Linked DNA regions of Homo sapiens: all the other regions are linked to region 3. Evidence: promoter capture Hi-C in 16 types of primary human blood cells and fetal thymus (Javierre and others, 2016). All regions are on one chromosome and are shown on one strand. Each heading gives the region's core, a stretch centred on a gene start or on the middle of the fragment in contact. The rest is flanking DNA. Distances are from core to core; before and after follow the strand shown.

The links. Contacts are between HindIII fragments. The CHiCAGO score rates a contact against its expected background, and 5 or more counts as called.
Region 1: a contact is called between a fragment that was not itself captured here and the fragment with the promoter of UBQLN1 in region 3, in 2 of 17 cell types (total B cells and neutrophils). The highest score is 6.4, in total B cells.
Region 2: a fragment that was not itself captured here is called in contact with the fragment with the promoter of UBQLN1 in region 3 in 3 of 17 cell types (total B cells, monocytes and neutrophils); the score reaches 5.9 in total B cells.
Region 4: a contact is called between a fragment that was not itself captured here and the fragment with the promoter of UBQLN1 in region 3, in 1 of 17 cell types (monocytes). The highest score is 5.3, in monocytes.
Region 5: a fragment that was not itself captured here is called in contact with the fragment with the promoter of UBQLN1 in region 3 in 1 of 17 cell types (neutrophils); the score reaches 8.7 in neutrophils.

What each region holds. Positions count from the first base shown.
Region 1 is chr9:84,286,892-84,289,591 of GRCh38, reverse strand. SLC28A3 (solute carrier family 28 member 3) reads left to right here. Exons shown (of 18, transcript NM_001199633.2): 12 at 1,414-1,544. All of the region lies in intron 1 of SLC28A3-AS1 (SLC28A3 regulatory antisense RNA 1), which reads right to left. Among named protein-coding and RNA genes, the nearest start is that of SLC28A3-AS1, 10 kb to the right of the region's middle. The HindIII fragment of the contact is 4,681 bases long and covers 1-2,700 here.
Region 2 is chr9:84,266,220-84,268,919 of GRCh38, reverse strand. No RefSeq gene overlaps it. Among named protein-coding and RNA genes, the nearest start is that of SLC28A3-AS1, 11 kb to the left of the region's middle. The HindIII fragment of the contact is 6,591 bases long and covers 1-2,700 here.
Region 3 is chr9:83,706,572-83,709,271 of GRCh38, reverse strand. It overlaps UBQLN1 (ubiquilin 1), which reads left to right and starts at 1,314. Exons shown (of 11, transcript NM_013438.5): 1 at 1,314-1,772. The coding sequence starts at 1,593. UBQLN1-AS1 (UBQLN1 antisense RNA 1) reads right to left here and starts at 1,437. Exons shown (of 2, transcript NR_135839.1): 1 at 960-1,437. RefSeq lists enhancers at 512-1,400, 1,564-1,633, 1,401-2,291. The HindIII fragment of the contact is 7,028 bases long and covers 1-2,700 here.
Region 4 is chr9:84,306,724-84,309,423 of GRCh38, reverse strand. The region is part of intron 3 of SLC28A3 (solute carrier family 28 member 3); the gene reads left to right. Among named protein-coding and RNA genes, the nearest start is that of SLC28A3-AS1, 30 kb to the right of the region's middle. The HindIII fragment of the contact is 2,118 bases long and covers 287-2,404 here.
Region 5 is chr9:84,329,286-84,331,985 of GRCh38, reverse strand. The region is part of intron 1 of SLC28A3 (solute carrier family 28 member 3); the gene reads left to right. Among named protein-coding and RNA genes, the nearest start is that of SLC28A3, 10 kb to the left of the region's middle. The HindIII fragment of the contact is 1,958 bases long and covers 329-2,286 here.

The DNA.
Region 1 (2,700 bases), core at 179-2,678, 580 kb before region 3:
AGCTTTTAAATTCTCTAATGCCCAGGTCCATATCTCAGAGTAATTAAACTACAGTTCCTTGGGATGAGACCCAGCCATCAATATTTTTTAAAACTCTCAGATTCTAATGTACAGCCAAGTTTGAGAGTTGGCAGTCTGTAGTATAAGGCTAGAGAATGTTATAACTGGTGCGTGCACCCCGACCCATAGAGCTTACAAGCCACACATAGACACAGTCCCCAATATTGAAACTGAGTAACACAGCCCAGTCACTGTGTGACTCAGGAGACTAGGATTTCTTACAAAATAAGTGGGCTTCATTGTAGGTCTTCATCCAGGCCTCGGAGTGCCAATTAGTAGGAAGAGGCAAGAAGAAAGGAGCAAAGGACACCTGTGGAGCAGCTTGAGTGGATCATCTGGGGAATGCCATCCCCACTGTAGAAATGCTGCCTCAAAAATGTTCTGGGGGGAACAGGAACAGGGAGGGAGGTGTTGATCCTGGAATTCTGAAAATATGTGGAAGAGAATCCAGAAACCATGTGAGGGCAGGTAGGAAGGGGAACGAGTGGACCTGCAATAAAGAAAACAGAAGTCGTGTACAGATTAAAGGGCCACCAGATCAATGAAGATTGTGTAAAGGCACCAAGGACCTCAGGAGAGCAAAAGGAAGATGGAGAGAGGAGAATATACACATCTGCACATGAATCATGAGTCCCTTCTCCACTCCCCATCCCCTCCCCATCCCCTATCTAAAATGATGTAATGAGGCTGGGCATGGTGGCTCATGCCTGTAATCCCAGCACTTTGAGGGACCAAGGCAGGCAGATCACCTGAGGTTGGGAGTTCAAGACCAGCCTGGCCAACATGGTTGAAACCCCATCTCTACTAAAAGATACAAAAATTAGCTAGGTGTGGTGGTGGGCTCCTGTAATCCCAGCTACTCAAGAAGCTGAAGCAGGAGAATCGCTTGACCAGGGAGGCGGAGGTTGCAGGGAGCCAAGATCGCACCACTGCACTCCTGGGTGACGGAGCAAGACTCCATCTCAAAAAAAAAAAAGTTGTAATGACATACATGCTTTAGGGGCTCTCTGAACATTCAAAAGGGCAACAGAGAGGTAGAGGAATCTTCCTTGAAAGTTTCCACAACACAGGATTAATTCTTTTCTGAAACGATCAGATTTTGGTTTTATGCTTCTCCCCAGGGATGTGGTCAATTAGCACAAATGTCTCCCTTATCCCTCAGCCTCTCAAGGTGATGCCCGCGACTTGGCTCAATGAGCTAGAGTGGCTCTTCCAGACCTCCAAAGAAACATTGTCTTCTGGAATAGAAACAACCCCTGCCCTGTTTCTTCCCTTGCGGAGCTCTTGGACCCTTCCTCTGAACACAAGAAAAAAGCTAATCCCAGGTTTGCCTTCTTTCTTCTGAAATTGCAGGTTCCATCCTCCCACTTGTTAACAGCGTCAGTTATGTCAGCACCTGCGTCATTGGCTGCTGCTAAACTCTTTTGGCCTGAGACAGAAAAACCTAAAATAACCCTCAAGAATGCCATGAAAATGGAAAGTGGGTAAGTGTGACACATTCACCTAATTAATGACTACCCAAGCCGGGGCGGGGGACTCCAGGAGTCAATGTACAGCAAAAATTTGATAACCGGAAAGCACAGTGAATTACAATATTAAAGTTAGTCCAAAGACTATTTAGACTTCACAGAAAAAAGTCTTATTTTATTTCCTTTTTTTGAGTCTTGCTCAAAAAAGACTTTTTTAAAGTTGCTCTGTCACTCAAGCTGGAGTGCAGTGGTATGAACACAGCTCACTGCAGCCTCAACATCCCAGGCTCAAGTTATCCTCCCACCTCAGCCTCTTAAGTAGCTGATACTACAGGCATGCACCACCACTCTCAGCTAATTTTTTTTAGAAACAGGGTCTCACTATGTTGCCCAGGCTGATCTCCAGCTCCTGGGCTCAAGGGCTCCTCCTGCCTCAGCCTCCCAAAGTGCTGGGACCTGGCCAAAATCTTGTTTAATACTTGACATAAACCTCTCTAAATACCTAATGTCAATACATTTCCATATCTGTTTGTTGTAAAGATATTTCTTTATAAATATAGCAGAGTGTTTATGGAGCCTTGGTTTAGACAGAAAGCCATAGGATGACCATTTCTGGAGGTTCCTCCTATAAGAAAGCTGGTTCCTTTTCTTTTGCTCTGTGAAAAAGAAAAAAAAACAGAGTGGAAAAGACTAAGGGATTTAGGGTGTTCAAGAGTATTTCATTAAATAACAGAATTCATCAGCAACCAACATGTGTCTGAAATTCACCCATACTTGTATGTAGATAAAGTCAACCATGAGCGAAAAAGCAAGTTACCAAAGAATACAGCGTAATTCCACTTGTAAAGTTACTCAGTGTGCAGACTTGCACAATGTTGTTTTTTTGTTTGTTTGTTTGTTTGTTTTGACAGGGTCTCACTCTGTCACCCAGGCTGAGCTCAAGTGATCCTCCCACCTCAGCCCCTTGAGTAGCTAGGACTACAGGCACGCAGCACCACACCCAGCTAATTTTTGTACTTTTTGTAGCGACAGTATTTCACCATGTTGTCCAGACTGGTCTCAAACTCCTGGGCTCAAGCAATCTACCTGCCTCGGCTTCCCAAAGTGCTGGGATTATAGGGTGTGAGCCACTGCACCCGGACACACAATGTATTTTTTAGGGAATACAGAC
Region 2 (2,700 bases), core at 23-2,522, 560 kb before region 3:
CATCTGTACTTTTATTTTTTTGTAGTTCTTTTTTGCCATGTAGAAGTTTCCACATGTAAAGTAAATTTATCTGTTTAGGCCAGGAGCAGTGGCTCACACCTATAATCCTAGCACTTTGGGAGGCAGAGGCAGGAGGATTGCTTGAGTCCAGAAGTTGGAGACCAGCATGGTGAAACCCCATCTCCACAAAAAAAAAAAAAAAAAAAAAAATCCAGGCTTGGTGGCAAGCGCCTGTAGTGCCAGCTACTCAGGAGGCTAAGGTGGGAGGATGGCTTGAGCCCCAGAGGTGGAGGTTGCAGTGAGACATGACCCCACCACTGCACTCTAGCCTGAGAGACACAGCAAGACTCTGTCTCAAACAAACAAAAAAAATTTCCATACTTAAATATATCAATCTCTTTTATTATGGCTTCTAGATTTTGTGTCATAGGAAAGCCATCCCCACTCTAAAGTCATAAAGAAATTTTCTCATCCTTTCTAGTAGAACTTTTGTGGTTTCACTTTTCATATTTGTCTTTGATCCATTTGGGATTTGTCCTCCTAAATGGTGTGAGATATGGCTTCAGATTTTTTTTTTTTTTTTTTTTACATTTTTTTCTAGATGGTTGTCCCAATATCACTTATTGAATACTGGTACAGCTGGCCTCAGTAACCATAGGTTCTGCATCCTTGGATCCAACCTTGAATAGAAAATGTAGCTAGGCCTGCAATGGTTATGTCTGTACTGAACATGTAGAGACTTTTTTTCTTGTCATTGTTCCCTAAATGATACAGTACAACAACTATTTACATAGCATTTACATTGTATTAGGTATTGTAAGTAATCTAGAGATGATTTACCGGAGGATGTGCCTACATTATATGCAAATACTATGCCATTTTATGGCCTCCTGGGGTTTTGGTATCTGAGGGGACTCCTGGAACCAATCCCCCAGGAATACCAAGGGATGACTGTCATCCCTTTTATCATTAAGTCCCCTGTATTGGGATTATGTGGACTTTCTGCTCTGTTCTATTGGTCTGTCTGTTTGCTCCAGTGAACATTAACTGTTTGATCTTTAAAATGAAGATTATAATATCTACCTGAGAGAACTGGCCTTAAGAATTAAATGAGGCCAAGCATGGTGGCTCATGCCTGTAATCCCAGCACTTCGGGAGGCCAAGGCGGACAGATCACCTGAGGTCGGGAGTTCGAGACCAGCCTGACCAACATGGAGAAACCCCGTCTCTACTAAAAATACAAAAATTAGCCAGCCGTGGTGGCGCATGCCTGTAATCCCAGCTACTCGGGAGGCTGAGGCAGGAGAATCGCTCAAACCCAGGAGGCGGAGGTTGCGGTGAGCTGAGATCGCACCATTGCACTCCAGCCTGGGCAACAAAAGCGAAACTCCGTCTCAAAAAAAGAAAAAAAGAATTAAATGAATGTGTAATGTTTGGCCCATAGAAGAGTTCAATAAGTTTCTGCGGAAAATTTTGCCTACTTCACTCTCATACAAAGAAATGCAGATACCCAGATTGTTCACAGATAATCATGGTTCAAAGATTAGCTTTTTCATTCCACTCTGAACTAAAGGCTCCTTTACATAAACTAAAGGCAGATAATGATTTTATCAATGATCTCCATAATAGGTTTAAGGTGGTTTTAGTGAGTTGTTCACTAACCTACTTTGAAATGAAATTCCTAGGGCCATTAATCCCCTGAAACTTGTTTGCCAAAGCAAATTACCAGACAAGACTGGGTTTGAATCCTGGTTTAGCCACTTATCTCTGAGATTCTGTTTCCTTATTATCAAAAGAGGGATAATTATATCTCCTCCTATTCTGAAAAATATTGAGATAATAATATAAGAAAAGTAGCTAGTACTGTGCTTGTCATATAGTATATGTTCAGCAAATGTAGCTTTAACAAATTTTTGTTATCATTATCATGTTCTTTGTTGTAATCATTAAAGATGATGGTTTTGGGTGGATGAAGACAAAAGGAGGGTAATAAACACTAAAACAGGAAAGAAAGAAAGAATAATCAGAATACTAAAATCAAAACTACTTCCAAAACTAAGGTGTATCGATAGAAGGATAGAGGAATATACAACAACGATAAACAATAAGTGATAAATCAGGTAAAATGTTAATGATAGAATCTAAATTTACACAATAAAACTCCTTCGAATTTGCCGTATGTTTGAAATTTGTTATAGTAAAATATTAGGAAAAATTAAAGGCTACCATTGCTTACTCCCTCTAGTCCTAATTTCACCATAACCCCCAAAAACGCTCAAAGGTAAAGGATAATTGATTTTCCTTTAATCTTGATATTTCATATAGAGTGGAGAACTTGTCATTTGCCTCCTGGCCAATTTTTCAAGCTGTCTTTGTGAATGTGATTCACTCCCTTCCCCTAAGATTCATACTTTCTATTTCCTGCTGGTCAAACTGACAGCTCCAATTTACACACACCTGCCATGAATATACTAATGTCCCAGAATCTCCCCTCCCTTCCTGTTTCTCTCAAGCCACCAACTCCCAGAGTCCAAACAGCTTCGTACCAGGAAACCGTAGAGTGGAAGTTGGGGTTTAGAATTGAAAGCCCTGTTTCCAAGACATTTGGAAAGCGAAAGTCAACTGCAGTTTTCTCCTGTTGCTATGACACAGGTGAACGTAGAGTCGCTAGCCTGGAAACTGACAGACAGGGATCAGGAT
Region 3 (2,700 bases), core at 65-2,564:
CCAAGTAGTCATCCTTCATTAAGCAGAAGGCCTTGTTATTGAGCCATGCTGCCAGAAATTTAGGTGATATCAAATGATGTCTATACTGAAATCGATACCCTCAGGATTCTCTTAGACCCAGATTCCATAGAGCTCTGCTAAAAAGTCGTGTTTATGTAACAGTATTTATTCTCAGAACAGGGTTGGACGGCTTAGGAGCAGAAAGGCAGAATGTATCTTTGCGGATTTGGGTCATAGTGGGCTGTCAGGATTTAAATTGTGCAACATTGATTAATAATGGGCTGGTTTGTACATTCCTTGCAAGTCATCTTTAAAAGCCAATGACGTCATTTCAAATTAGGATTCTCAGAGATAATTTCTCTCTGTATTACACTGAAAATAATTTTGGAACTATCCTTAATGCCACTTAAAGCCTGAAATTGACCAGTAACTTAATTTGATAGAATATAAGGCGAACACCTCAACTATATTAAATTGTCCCATTTGGGTGGACACTCCTCGGGCACCCTGTTCCGCCCTACACACAGATAATCTGGGGGCGCTCGCGCACAGCTGTCATCGTAGCAGCAGAGGCCACTGTCAATACAGGTTGCCTGACTGATCGTCTGACCAAACCGGGCTAACCCGAGGGCGGTAAATAAGCTCTGGCCATGAAGCAATGACTCCGCAGGATTGCGCAGGGCAGTCACGGGCGTTCACTCCATTTTCTGTTCGTTGTGCTGAGGCCTTTCCACCATTAACTTACCCCAACTCCCCCGCATAGGGCAATACGACCCCTCCAAATATCAAACGCTAAGCATATTAAAATAACAAAATACCTCGCCGCTATTTTATCACCAGACCCTCCTCCCAGCGGGGAACGCAGAGTAGACAGAGAGGCAAGGGAGGGCAAGGCGATTGTGACAGCGCGGAGGGGTGAACACGGCCCAGCTGGGCATGAGGTAAGGTGGGGAGACTACCTGGACAGCAAGCGCGCAGGCGCAGCCGCGGCCGCAGGGCCCACTGGTCCCTTTCTAGTAATTTCGCTAACCGTGACGTCATCTCGGTGCGCCGTTACAGCGCTTAACTGGAAACTGCGATTTAGTTTTTGGTGAAAGGAGTGGAAAAAAACCATGAACTGACCTACCCCGCCCCATTTTGCTTTTAGTCCTTCACACTGGCTTCGCCTGCACTTTGGGCAATGGAGCGGGAAAGGAAAAGGCACGCAGGCTGAGCTCAAAGTCGCGCCAGCCGGGGATGACTCGGCGACGCCGCCAGGCGCGTTACCCGGCGTGCTCCGCGCGGCGCCGGCGAAGGGACGTGGGGGAAGGGGCAGGGAGGAGGAAGCGGTGGCTGCTGCGGATGTCGGTGTGAGCGAGCGGCGCCTGAACACACGGCGGCTGCCGAGCGCCTGACCCGGGCCTGCGCCAGAGCCTGCACCGAGCTCCGGGGCCCCACACCCGCTACGGTGGCCCTGCGCCCGTTGCTACTGAGGCGGCGTGCTCTGCATTCTTCGCTGTCCAGGCCTGCCGGCTCTGGTGTCTGCTGGCTCCTCCTTGCTCGCCTGCTCCCTCCTGCTTGCCTGAGTCACCGCCGCCGCCGCCGCCACAGCCATGGCCGAGAGTGGTGAAAGCGGCGGTCCTCCGGGCTCCCAGGATAGCGCCGCCGGAGCCGAAGGTGCTGGCGCCCCCGCGGCCGCTGCCTCCGCGGAGCCCAAAATCATGAAAGTCACCGTGAAGACCCCGAAGGAAAAGGAGGAATTCGCCGTGCCCGAGAATAGCTCCGTCCAGCAGGTGAGGCCGCCTGGGGCTCGGGCCGGGATGGGGGTGGCGGCAGGACCTCCGCCCGCCGCCCCAGGAGACCTTTTGGAAGGGCCTGGGAGAGGGGTCGTCCTCGGCCATTCTCCCGGGCGTCGTCCCAAATTAGATCACACCCAAGTTCGTGGGTTTGCGCCTTGGGACACCGCAATGGTTTGTGGCGTGGCGGCGCGGCCTGTTTGTGGGACGGGCTGATGCCGCTTTTCTCGGAGCCTTCCTTCTCTGGTATCCGCCGACCCTCAGCCTCCTCCCCCAGTTCCCCGCCCTCCGTCGCCTCCCCTCCAACTCCTCACAAAGGAAAGGGACCCACCGCCAGCCTCCGGGCGGGGTGGAGGCTGGGCGGGGGCGAGGGTTCGCTTTAGCTCAGGCTGCGGTTTTGTTTCATGAATTAAAAAGGGGTGGGTGGGATCCTCGTTGTTTTACGTGCCTGCTTGTTAAGGTGGGTTTTGGGGTGAGGTGCATGTGTATATTTAGTTCTGCATTTTAACTCCTGAAATCTTTCCCACCTTGCAACCTTTAAAAAAAAATTATGACGTAGAAACTGTTTTTAGCTCCATCTTAAGTAATAGTGATAGTACTAGGTTTAAGGAGAAAAGTGAATGACTTTCTTTCACTGATGACTTGCTCTTTCCCTTTTAGTATGTTTATCATCTCTTAGATGCCAATCATTGGGTAGGTTTTTGTTTGATTTTAGAGGGGCGATAGCGATGTTGATATTAGCGGTTGCAATCAAATAAAAGAAAATCGGAGTGAATGCAGAATATTACTTAAACTTGGTTCAGGAATACAAATCTTGCAGTTAATTAAGATTCTTGGTGGAATTTAACAAATAATTTTAGTGTATTGTTGAATACGTCGTGTTTTCCATAATTACTGACTTAATCTCTGAAGATCGCAAACAACG
Region 4 (2,700 bases), core at 96-2,595, 600 kb before region 3:
AGCCTCCCGAGTAGCTGGGACTACAGGCGCATGCCACCACGCCTGGCTAATTTTTGTATTTTTAGTAGAGGCTGGGTTTCACCATGTTGGCCAGGCTGGTCTCGAACTCCTGACCTCAAATGATCCACCCACCTCGACCTCCCAAAGTGTTGGGATTACAAGCATGAGCCATGGCACCAGGCCTCCCATTTGATTTTTAACACTTATTATAATTTATTAGAGATTGTCACCACCCATCCATCTACCCTCCCTACCCAACACCCCTTCCAGAAAAATTAATGAAGCTTTAAGATGATCAATGTGGCCAATTCAAACTGCTGATGTTCTGGGAACCCAATATGCAGATTTAAATTCACCCAGGACAGTCTTCTAATTAAAAGTGTAAATTACCAAATAATTGCTCCAGTCCATACGAATGCAGTTAATTCATCTTCTCAATGTCAATCAATAGCAATTGATCGCTCAAAACCCAATCCACTTTAAATCCCAACAAACGGTTTCTCTTACCTTGTAATAGCCTCAAAGTATTCCAAGTTCTTACAACTCCGTAAGGTAGGAGACGCAAGATTAGTATCTTTATTTTTTGGACCAGAAAAATGAACCTCAGAGAAGTGACTTCCCCAAGTCAACTAGGAGAGGAAGAGAATTAGGTCACAATTTCAGCTTCTGATTCCTAGTCCAGGATTGTCTGCCACCTATCATAACACTACAGTATTTGTCCATCTTCTATATTCCTACTTAAATTTGATTTGCATTCCTATGTCTCTGAGGAAATTTTTCTTTTTTCTTTTTTAGAGGCAGGGGCTTACTCTGTTGCATAGGCTGGAGTTCAGTGGTGCTAATTTTAAATCTAGAAATAGATTTTAAATTTTTTTTTTGAGATGGAGTCTTGCTCTGTTGCCCAGGCTGGAGTGCAGTGGCACAATCTCAGCTCACTGAAACCTCCATCTCCCGGGTTCAAGCAATTATCCTGCCTCAGCCTCCCGAGTAGCTGGGATTACAGGCATGCACCATCGTGCCCGGCTAATTTTTGCATTTTTAGTAGAGACAGGGTTTCACCATGTTGGCCAGGCTGGTCTTGAACTCCTGACCTCAGGTGGTCTGCTTGCCTCAGCCTCCCAAAGTGCCAGGATTACAGGTGTGAGCCACCACGCCCGGCCAGAAATATATTTTAATTTAAATCTATTCTGTCCAGCCTGGGCAACAGAGCAAGGCCCTGTCATGAGATCTGTCAAGCTCACTGCAGCCTCGACCTCCTGGGCTCAGGTGATCCTCCCACCTCAGCCTCGCAAGTAGCTGGGACTACAGGAGGAACTTTGTTATATGTATCAGAAGATATCTCTGGAGTTGGCCAGAATTAGGGTTGGCAGCTCTTGTCACATATACATCATCCCAAATATTTACCATATCAGAAACATAGCAAAGTTTTATCCTTCATTTTACTTTATGAGTCTCTGACCCGGAGGTACTGAGAAATTCTCTTGGGTGGTCAGAGGTACTCAGGTTTCACTAATGTTAATGAGACTGAAACAGCCATCAGGAGGTTGGGAATTATTCAGCCTAGATAACCAAATGACCAAAGTGTCTACTTTCAGCTACTCTGCTTTATGCAGAAGTCAGATTGCCACAATGGACTACACACATTCCCTGCAATTAAAGAACCTGATAGAGTCAACCTACAGTATGTGAATGTACCCTATTAAATGTCACCCTCTGCTGCTGCTGCTTCTTAATATATCTTCAACTGAGAATAATACATCATTAGCCTTTCCTAAATCAGACCGTGAAAAAATGTCTTCACTACACTTTTATTCACCCAATATTTTCTAGAGAGCACTGTTTCTAACTCTCAGTATACATATTCACACACATACATAATGATGAACATTTCATGAAGTGATACCTATTGTTCTTATGTATGAATGATACACTATGATACTTTTGATATTTTTATTCTTTCTTTTTGTTTTTGTTTTTGTTTTTTTTTTTTTTTGAGATGGAGTCTCGCTCTGTCTCCCAGGCTGGAATCCAATGGCGCAATTTTGGCTCACTGCAACCTCCGCCTCCTAGATTCAAGCGATTCTCCTGCCTTAGCCTCCCGAGTAGCTGGGATTACAGGCCTGTGCCACCACACCCGGCTAATTTTTGTATTTTTAGTAGAGACAGGGTTTCACCATGTTGGCCAGGCTGGCCTCAAATTCCTGACCTCAGTTGATCCACCCGCCTTGGCCTCCCAAAGTGCTGAGATTACAGGCTTGAGCCACCGCGCCTGGCCTTTTTTTTTTTTTTTTGGTTGAGACGGGGTGCAGTGACACAATTACAGCTCACTGCAGCCTTGACCGCTCGGGCTCAAGTGATTTTCCCATGCAGCTGGGACCACAGGTTTGTGCCATCACACGAAGCTTTTTTTTTTTTTTTTTTTTTTTTTTGTAGAGACAAGGTCTCACTGTGTTTCCCAGGCTGGTCTGAAACTCCTGGGCTCAAATAATCCTTCTACTTTGGCCTCTCAAAGTGCTAGGATTACAGGCATGAGCCACCACACCTGGCCTCCTTCTATTTTAATAGTGGTTACTATGTGGGCTTCATAACCCGCTAATGCATCCCCAACTCAGAGCTGTAAAATACTGTTTCAGATAAGCAATATTTACTCCCATTTCATTCATCTATCAATCAATACATGTCTGTTGAACATCCTTAATA
Region 5 (2,700 bases), core at 58-2,557, 620 kb before region 3:
CAGTGATCATCAACATTGCTTTAAAAAAGAACCTTTTCCCCACTCCACAGATATTTTGCCACGTGTCCATATTTGGGAGAGGCTTTTTGGAACAGGGCAACTGAAAGATTTTTCCAAACTCAGAGGAGATGGGGAAGAATCCAAAGAGATGGAAGTTAACAGCAACAGAGGTCAAAACAGTTCAGAATTTCTAAGAGGAAAATGCAGGAATGTTTTTTAACACATTTATTAAAAGGCATCTCTTGGAATCCCAACTCAAGTTTCCTCCTCCCTGTGAATAAGCAATCAATCTTACCACAGCTGCTCTCAGAGGCACAGAACCCAAGCTTGCTCTGAAGTTAGTTGGGTGGAACTCACTTACGAAAGTCTTGGGAGAGGACTAGGCTGGGGAAATGGGCCTCACTCTGCACAAACACACAGGAAAGGCTGAGTTACTCCATGAGTAAGCCAGTCAAGCAGGTTTGGAGAGTTTGTTAAATGGAGTTTACAATTTGGGAGATCATGTAAGTGTAAGTCCATCAGGGATCCAAACCTGCTGGAGTACAGGTGTAGACTTCTTGTCAAGCACGTACTTTGAATACAAAAGTTCTAAGGTAGGAAGTAACTATGTTATGTAGGGAAGAAGAATATTGTTTCTCCTTAACCCACTAGCCTGGGAAGTCAATATGAATCACATTGAGTACTCTTTCACATTGCTCAAGAGGCGCTCGGCTGGAGCTTCCTATATTCAATTAAAACACACACACACAAAAACACATGACAATAATTCGCTTTTGGGAAGGAGGTTAAAAAAGAAAAGTATATTCTCTACTCTTTCCTCAAGTTTGCATGATCACACCTAGACTTATTTTTAGGGGAAAACAGTGTAGGGGATTGTAAACCAAGTCACTTCCATGGCATCTCAGAGAGAGAGGGTATAAGGATTTAGTTTTTCCTCATTCAAACACTCCTGAAGTGATTCCCCTTGAAATTGAGGAGCCACTTACTCATCAGTGTTGAGGCACTGGAAAGAAAATAGAAAATAATTAATAATGTAGATAAAGATACATTTTTGCTGAGGGCTAAAGCAGAACTTTCTAATATGTAACACTAGCCAGATATGTAATTTAAAACTTTTCTGCAAGCCCATTAAAAATGCAAAATAAAGTAGGTATAACTCTTCACCTTATTTTAACTATATTTTATGGAACCTCATATATTGAAATTAATGAAATAATTTATATTTGTTTCATACCAAGTCTTTGAACATCCAGTGCATATTTTAAACATATAGTACATGTCAACTCTAATGCTACATTTTTATCAGAAATACTTGATCTGTTTTTAGATTTCATAAAATGTATATTTGTAAAAAGTAGATTCATAATCAAGTTGTTCTAAACATGCCTGTTTTTCAATACATGGATCTAATGTTCAGTTTTTAATTTAAATTTAAATTAGTTAAAATTAAATTCAGGTCCTTAGTCATATTAGTCACATTTCAAGCACTCAGTAACCACTTGCCACTGATGGTTATTCTATTGGATCACCCACGTAAGCATGTGTTTTTGGTTTTAGAGTTCATACACACACACAGATCTGGTTATCCTTCCTCTTTAAGGACCTGACCACCAGATTTATGCCAAAAAATTAAAGTAACAACTTTACATTTATTTCTGTAATATCAGTAGTAATATCTCCTCTTTCATTCATGAATTTAGTTATTTGTCTTCTCTCTTTTTTTTCCTTGGTTTCTTTTTTCCTTGACATTTCCTTGTTGGGAGGTTTATGGTTAGCAATTCAATCTCTTCACTTGCTATTAGTTTTTTTGAGCTTTTTTTTTCCCTTAAGTAAGTTAAGAACCAACTTTTGGTTTCATTGATTCTCTCTTTTGTTTTTCTAGTCTATATTTCATTTGTCTCCACGATAATCTTCATTATTTCTTTCTTTCTGCTAACTTTGGATTTAGTTTGTTGTTCTTTTTCTAGTTCATTACAGTAGAAGATTGGATTATTGATTTGAGATCTTACTTCTTGATAATATAAGCAATTACAATTATAAAATTCCCTGTAAGCACTGCTTTAGCGATATTCATAAATTTTCGTATATTTTCATTTTTGTTATTTATTTATTTATTTGTGATGAGGGCCATGCTATGTTGCCTAGGCTGGCCTCAAACTCCTGGGTACAAGCAATCCACCCACCCCAGCCTTCCAAGTAGCTGGGACTACAGGCATGCATCACTGTGCTCAGCTTTATTTTTCTTTCTTCTTCTTTTTTTCATGAGACAGAGTCTCACTCTAAGCTTTATTTTTATTAATTCTCTTTTTTTTATAAGACAGAGTCTCACTCTGTCACCCAGGCTGCATTTTAATTATTATCAAACTATTTTCTAACTTCCCTAATGATTTCTTCTTTAATCCATTGGTTATTTAGGAGTGTGCTTAATTTCCTCATAATTTATAAGTTTTCCCCAAATTGTGGTTGGGGAAGACACATTATCTTTCAATATTTTTAAATTTATTGAGATTTGTTTGGGCCTAACATGTGATCTAGCCTGGAGAATGTTCTACATGCACTTGAGAAGAATGTGTATTCTACTTTTGTTGGTGGAGTGTTCTGTATATGTCTATAAGGTCTAGTTGGTTTATATACCACTGTTCAATTCTTGTATTTTCTTACTGACCATCTCTCTAGTTCTAGTCATTACTGAAGATGGGG